2 separate regions of the Homo sapiens genome follow, and region 2 is linked to region 1. The links are contacts of gene promoters, found by promoter capture Hi-C in blood cells and fetal thymus (Javierre and others, 2016). All regions are on one chromosome and are shown on one strand. The core of a region is centred on a gene start or on the middle of the fragment in contact, and the rest is flanking DNA. Distances in the headings are between cores, read along the strand shown. Region 1 holds the start of CLUH (CLUH binding protein of NUMT mRNA). Region 2 overlaps LOC284009 (a long non-coding RNA gene).

What was found. The method cuts DNA at HindIII sites, captures the fragments that hold promoters and counts their contacts. A CHiCAGO score of 5 or more calls a contact.
Region 2: a contact is called between a fragment that was not itself captured here and the fragment with the promoter of CLUH in region 1, in 1 of 17 cell types (fetal thymus). The highest score is 5.6, in fetal thymus.

Annotation. Positions count from the first base shown.
Region 1 is chr17:2,710,446-2,713,919 of GRCh38, reverse strand. It overlaps CLUH (CLUH binding protein of NUMT mRNA), which reads left to right and starts at 2,156. Exons shown (of 26, transcript NM_001366661.1): 1 at 2,156-2,358. The coding sequence starts at 2,259. It overlaps LOC105371592 (a long non-coding RNA gene), which reads right to left and starts at 1,611. Exons shown (of 2, transcript NR_136412.1): 1 at 1,521-1,611; 2 at 1,087-1,438. RefSeq lists enhancers at 891-1,786, 1,787-2,683 and silencers at 1,848-2,027, 2,158-2,277. The HindIII fragment of the contact is 7,311 bases long and covers 1,243-3,474 here.
Region 2 is chr17:2,403,528-2,407,358 of GRCh38, reverse strand. It overlaps LOC284009 (a long non-coding RNA gene), which reads left to right. Exons shown (of 3, transcript NR_028335.1): 3 at 129-378. Among named protein-coding and RNA genes, the nearest start is that of MNT, 4.4 kb to the right of the region's middle. The HindIII fragment of the contact is 2,381 bases long and covers 540-2,920 here.

The sequences.
Region 1 (3,474 bases), core at 907-3,406:
GCTGCACTGGGCCACTAGGCACAATTCTCAAAAACCCTGGAGTTTCATGAATACAAACTAAGTACCCATCAGTCAGGTGACCGGCTAAAAGAATTATGGTACAACCAAACAATACAACATTATCCAGCGTAAATGGAATGAGAACACCTACTGAAAGCGTGTAAAAAAAAAATCAGAGTGAAGAATAGCAGGTACAATTTTCTGCACATTTGTGTAACAAAAGAGGAACGAGTGTGTGTATACACATACGTATATACACACGCACACATAAGTATGTATGTGTATATATACACACATATATACACACTTTTATATATATTGATTATAAATATATATATTTTATATATACACTTATATATATACACACTATATATATACACACACTATATATATACACACTATATATACACACTATATATATATACACACACTATATATATATATGCACACTTTTTTTTTCTTTTTTTGAGACGGAGTTTCTCTCTTGTTGCCCAAGCTGGAGTGCAATGGCGCGATCTCGGCTCACCGCAACCTCCACCTCCTGGGTTCAAGCGATTCTTCTGCCTCAGCCACCCGAGTAGCTGGGACTACAGGCGCACACCACCATGCGCAGCTAATTTTTGTATTTTTAGTAGAGACGGGGTTTCACCATCTTGGCCAGGCTGGTCTCTAATTCCTGACCTCGTGATCCGCCCGCCTCTGCCTCCCAAAGTGCTGGAATTACAGGCGTGAGCCACCGCGCCCGGCTTTTTTTTTTTTTTTTTTTTTGAGACGGTGTCTGTGTCACCCAGGCAGGAGTGCAGTGGTGCGATCATAGCTCACTGCAGCTTGGAACTCCTGGGCTCAATCTGAGCCGTCCTGAGTGATACTCCCAGCTCAGCTCCCAAGTAGCTGGGACTACAGGCGCGTGCCACTACACCTGGCTTTTTTTAAACAATATTTTTTGTAGAGACGGGGGTTTTGAAATGTTGCCCAGGTTGGTCTCAAACTTCCGAATCCTGAACTCAAGTCATCCGCCTGGCTTCGGCCTCCCAAAGTGCTAGGATTACAGGCGTGAGCCGCTGCACCGCCCGGCCGAGAAGAATCTTACCAGTTCTCATCTTCCTTCCTCCCGTTTAAATGCTCACATCAAGTCGCTGGCTTTCCTCACCACGTGCTCTCCAGAACAAGGTCGGCTTTCCTTCGCAATTTGTGCGAGGCCCTACCTAAGGCCCTCCCAGCCCACCTCGGGAAGCTGAAGCTTTCCAGTTCTCATTAGAGCTTGACAAACGCTCCGAAGGTTATAGGCCTCGGGTGCTTCCCAAAGGCCCCCTGCGGCCTGGCCAGGAAAGACCCACCGGCGCTCTCTGCCTGGAGCACTTCAACTCACTGCAAGACCTGGTCCCAATGTCCCCTCTGCAGCATTCTCTGACCTCACCGTTCCGTCCCCGCCAAGCCCCTGCCAAGTGAAAAATACGAGTTAAAGCGTCCTGGCTGTGGATGGAGTCAGACCCGGCTCTACCCCTTGCTCTCTGTGTGACCTTGGTCTCGGCCTCCTCCACTGTAAAATGAGGACACCAGCCTGGAGGTGAGGACCCATGGGTCGAGGACGCGGGTAGGGAGCCCGTTCTGGCTCGGGGCAAAGTTTGGCGGGTCCATTCTGACTCTTGATCCCCATTAGCCACGTCTCGCCCTCGCCTCTCGTGCCCGTGCCCTAAGCGACCCTCCACTCCCTCAATAATCCAGCCGCACCCATTCGGCGGGAAAGGGCCTGCCGGGTGGGGAGGGCGCTGAGGGTCACGCGAACACCGCAGATGACAGACTGCGCGGTCATTTAGCAAATCTGCAAGAGAAAACAGGGGATCCTTGGAGAGGGGAGGATTAGCCATGGCAGAACCAGACCAGTCTCCACCCAAGGTCACAGTGCCCGCCCGACGGGCAGCGAGCAGCAGGGAGTCTCCCCGAGGCCCCGCCCCGCGAGGGCGCCCAGCCTCCCTGGGCCTTGAGTCAGAGTGCGTTGCCTTTAAGACGTTCTGGAAAGTCACCGCGTCCGTGGGCGGGGAACCAGGCGCGGCGCGTTTTGTCCCTCGCGGGCCGCCGTGGGCTGGGCCGGGCGCGAGGGTGGGGCAGGGAAACGGCGGCGGGGTCAAAGGCCACGGCGCGCACCACGTGGGCCGGTGACTCCGTCCTTCCCTCAGCAGCCGCGGCGCGCAGGGCACTTGGGTTAGTGGCGCGGCGGGCGGCGCGGACAGCCGAGGCGGACGCCCGCTCCCGCCACCATGGTTATCAAGACGGACGAGTTGCCGGCGGCCGCCCCGGCCGACAGCGCCCGGGAACACGGCTCGCAGGCCGGGGGCAAGGGGCGGCCGGGCGCGGCCGGTGAGCGGGGCCAGGGCCAGCGGGCCGCTGGGCGGGGGGCGCCGGACCAGGGCGGGCGGGTTCGGGACTCCGCGGGGATCGCCGCCTTCCCTCCGCGTCGGGCCCGGTTGTATCTCGCTGGGGCCTTCACCGGGTCGCCCCCGCGCTGAAGGTCACCTTCACAGTCGCCCCCGGCTGCGGCCCGGGTTTCGCACGTGCGGTCCCGTGGAGGGCAGCCTCGGCTGGCACCCTCGGCGGGCACACGCGCGCCTCATCGCGGGGACACGTGCGCGCACACGCGGTTTCGGGGTGCGCCGCCGCCGCAGACCGAAAGAATCGGCGGCCCCACCCCCTCTGCGCCCGAGCATGGGAGCTCTCTGAGCTGGGGTCGCTCCGACGTTTGCGGGACAGCCCCCTTCGGCACCTGCTCCGCGGCGGCCTCCCAGGCATCCCCTGTGCGCAGGGCTGCAGCCCTGGGAGTGAAGCTCCGCTCGAGGCTTCCCAGGCTTGGTTTGTGGGAAGAGCACGAGGTGCGGGGTGTGCGTTGTGAGGGGCGTCCCTGGTTCATGCCCTGAGGCCAGGCTATAACCGCAGGTCTTCAGGCTGTGGCGGAGACTCTCAGGTGTGTTGGCCTGCTCGGCCGACCTGGTGTAGGGGGCGTCTGCCTTTGCATGGGGCAGAGCCAAACTCCTTGGCAGGGGGAAGTGTTTGTGCCAGAACTTGATCATTAACCTGCCTTATTGCGAAAAGTGGGTCAGACCAGAGTTGCTGTTTTTAAGGCAAAGGTCGTTAGTGTGGAGTCAAGCTCCCAGCGATCCCCCATGGGGGCTGTATGGTGGTGACTGTGGCAGTGGCTGCAGCTTGTCTCGGGTGGGGCCTGCTTTCCCTTTCTCCTGAGCCCCTTCTCTTCCTTCTGTTCCCTCCACCGTGTCTCAGACTCCAGCCTTGGGGCTGGAATCCCCTTCCCAGGCCCTCAGTCGTCATCTTCCTCAGGCCCTCTTTGCTCTGGGTGGCAGTGGAGGTGCAGAGCTACTCCTGTCCCCCAGTCCCTCCCTCCTCCGTCGACTGTCCTCAGTTGGGACTTGTGGTCTTAACGCCTCATCATCTCCCTTCCTAGCTTCAGTGAGTGCGCCAGGG
Region 2 (3,831 bases), core at 481-2,980, 310 kb after region 1:
TGATCCAGCGGACTCTTGACTCCCATGGCAAGACTCCACCCGGCTTTACTCATAACTTCTGCCCAGTCCCACTCCCTTGACCTGAATTAGTTTTGCTGTCATAAAGCCACCTCTTTTTTCCTTTAAAGGAATCCCTGACATCGTCATCCGTCTCCTGTGCCTTTCCGCTGGGTCAGCCTCCTCCCACCAAGCTTCTGACCCACTGTCATCCGCAGCTGCCACTCTAGCTGCAGAGCTCGACTGGGCTCTGGTTTCTCAGAAGAGCTCAGAGGACCTGGCTCCTCCCTCTTTGCTTCTGAACTGCATTTCTTTCCTTATTACTCAGTGTCCACACCCACGGTGGCTGCCTGGATAAAAATCTGCCCCTTTCTCCCGTCACCTTTCATGCCAGACAAAAGCCCCAGTGAGTAATGGTGACCTACCCAGGTCCAGCTAGCAGCTCTCCATTCCTGAGTGGCCTGGGGCAGAACAGGGTCCTGCGAGCTCCTGGATCCCAAGTCTGATTCCCTTTCCCTGTCTTCCCGCTTATCTGCTAAGCTTGTTTATTGGGGACCACTAAGCAAAGTGAATGATTATTCCTGTCTTTAACGAGGAGGGGTGGAGTTCCCTCTCCATCTTCACCCACTTCTGGGAGGCTTTCAGGGACTCAACACCCCACACTGATAGCACTTCCCCAGGCCTGGCCCAGCCAGCCAAAGAGGAGGACCAGGCCACTTCTCAACCTAGCTGATGCTTGGCAGCTTTGTGACCTTGGATACACCTTCTCTTGGGAGGTCAGACCCCATGATCCCAGCTCTTCCAGCTATGACATCATGTGAGGCTGCAATTTTTTTTTTTTTTTTTTTGAGACAGTATCTTGCTATGTTGCCCAGGCTGGCCTTGAAATCCTGGGCTCAGGCGATTCTCCTGTCTCAGCCTCCCACGTAGCTGGAACTTAGGGCGTGAGCCACCGCGCCCAGCTTCTGGAAAGGACATGAATGGGGAGGTGGAACTTGATTGGACCTGTTCTGTGAGTTCAGGAGAGGTCCTCTGACAACTCACTTGGGGTGGGGAAAGGAGGTAAAGAGTCCTGTGGAAACTTTTGGCTGTGGGGACCCCATTTCACTGATGATTGAATGGGTCCACCTCTGTCAAAGGAATTCAGAGTCCCACTCATCATTCAGACTGGGGGAATCAGGCTCAGTTGACTGGCCCAGCCTTAAATCCACTGAATTTGTTTTTATCTCTACATAGAAAAACGGAATTACAGTTGCTTCTCACTGTCCAATGGGGATTGGTTCCTGGAGCCTCCCTGAATACCTGTCCATGGATGATGCTCAAATCCCTTACATGTAACCTATGCACATCCTCAGGTATCCTTTAACTCATCTCTGCGCTACTCAAATACCTCATACCATGTAAATGCTGTGTAAATAGTTCTTGTGCTGTGTTGGTTTTTAAATTTGTATTATTTTTTCTTGTATATTTTCCATTTTTTTTTCCTGAATATTTTTGATCCACGGTTAGTTGCCTCCATGGGTGCGGACCCACGGACACGGAGGCTGCACCTTCTGAAATGAGCATGGCGGCGCCCTCTGGGTCCTCGTGTCGTCCTGTCTCTGGTGCTGCATCCAGCACGGTGGCGAACAGCAGAACTAATCTTTTGCAAGTTATCACAGTGGAGTGGAGTTCCGCTCTGTTTGCTTTTGCCCCGCTCTGGCTTACCAGAGGTCCCCTGGCCTTGGCCACAGCATACCTAGCCTAGTGCTTGGCACCTCAGGCACACAATAAATATTTATGAAATGGATCTTCTCTGGTATGTCTTGAGTGTACTAGTCTTCTGTTTTTTCCTCTTCATCCTGCAGCCAGCTTCCTCCCATGGGTCTTGTTTTAATGATGGTATGTGAAAAGCTCCTTAGCTGCTTGCAAAAGATGAGACATCAGGCTTGAAGGGTTGGGATTTCCTGTGAACATCTGTACTTTCGGCTTCACGCCCTTTCCCCCATCTCATGACTCAGGCTTTGTAGGAGTCAGGGCACTGATTTTCATAGCTCTTGGAGTTGATACTTTGTTAGGTGAGTGGTGGGGGATAGGAAGACAGTTCCACTAAGGGGATGTCTCTGGCTCAGCATATTAAAAAATTGGGGAATTGGTGCTTCTTATTGTGGTTGGTGAAAAAAAGAATAAAAGATTAAAAAATTGGAGGACATAATGGAATTTGAACTGGGAGGTGGGGTGCACAAGACTCGGGGAGGAAGACTGAAAACGGAAACCCTCTCGTGAGAAACTCACAATGATGGACAGCCCAGCTTTTCTCCTGCTCCAAGGTACTAAGCACCCAGAAGCCATGAAGAAACTTAAGGAACAGCCGGGCGCGGTGGCTCACGCCTGTCATCCCAGCCCTTTGGGAGGCCAAGACAGGCAGATCACTTGAGGTCAGGAGTTTGAGACCAGCCTGGCCAACATGGTGAAACCCCGTCTCTACTAAAAATACAAAAATTAGCCGGGCGTGGTGGTGCGTGCTTGTAATCCCAGCTACTCCGGAGGCTGAGGCAGGAGAATCACTTGAACCTGGGAGGCAGAAGTTGCAGTGAGCCAAGATCACACCACTGCACTCCAGCCTGGGCAACAGAGGGAGACTCTATCTCAAAAAAGAAAAAAAGAAAAAGAAACTTAAGGAACACCTTTTTAGAGATTGCTGGCCTTTGGATAATTCCCCAAACCTGCTAACCTTTCTGCTGAAACCAAAAGGACTTATTTCTCTTTCTCTTGAGTGAGTACATTTGCCAGCTTCTATCCTGGCTCCACCCCCTTGGAACAGGAAGCTGGGGCTAAAATATTAAACAGCCCTCCTATTCATTCCCCTCTTCTTTCATGCCCTCACATCGCCATTTATAGGTATCTCCCACCCCCACTGTCCATTCCTCAACTGGGGAAAGCTTGGTTGATGAGGTATTGTTTTTGGCCATTTTCAGGCTCCTGTAGGCAACAATAGGTCCAGAAACAGCCTCCCCCACCCTTTTTTTTTTTTTTTTTTTTTTTTTTTGGAGACGGAGTCTCTCTCTGTGGCCCAGGCTGGAGTGCAGTGGTGTCATCTCAGCTCACTGCAACCTCCACCTCCCGGGTTCAAGTGACTCTCCTGCCTTAACCACCCCCAGTAGCTGGGATTACAGGCGCCTGCCACCACGCCCAGCTAATTTTCTTTTTTCTTCCTTTTTTTTTTTTTTTTTTTAGTAGAGACAGGGTTTCACCACACCACGTTGGCCAGGATTGTCTCGAACTCCGGACCTCAAGTGATCCATGCACCTCGGCCTCCCAAAGTGCTGGGATTACAGGCGTGAGCCACCGCTCCTGGCCTGCAGCCTCCCTTCTAAACCCTTGTTTTTGTCTAACATCCCCTGGCTGCTGTCCCCACATGACCCAAATAAACAGATGATCATGTGAAGCCAGTAAGGCTGTTTGTTTTAAATAGCAAACATCTCCACTAAGCTCTGGAGCAGATGGAGTATTGGGGGCAATGGAGAGGCTGGCATTCAAATCTGTGTTCACTCTACTCTTACCTTCTGCTTCCTCACCCCTGAAGCGAACAGTGTCTTAAGAACACTGCCTTTCAGAGAGGTGCCTACTTACTGGTATAGAGTTGGCCAGTGACAAAGAAGAGTGTAAAAAATTAAACCTCAGCCTTCAGCAGAAACTCCAGGGCTGTATGAGTGCATGGCCACCTGAGGAGAGCAGGAAGGGACAGCTGGATGGAGCACTGTGCACCACGGTGCTGACCCCACACAAAATAAGAACTTGCCCAAAAGCATTAACTCAGGTCACAATCATGTATAGATGCAGCTCCACTTAGGA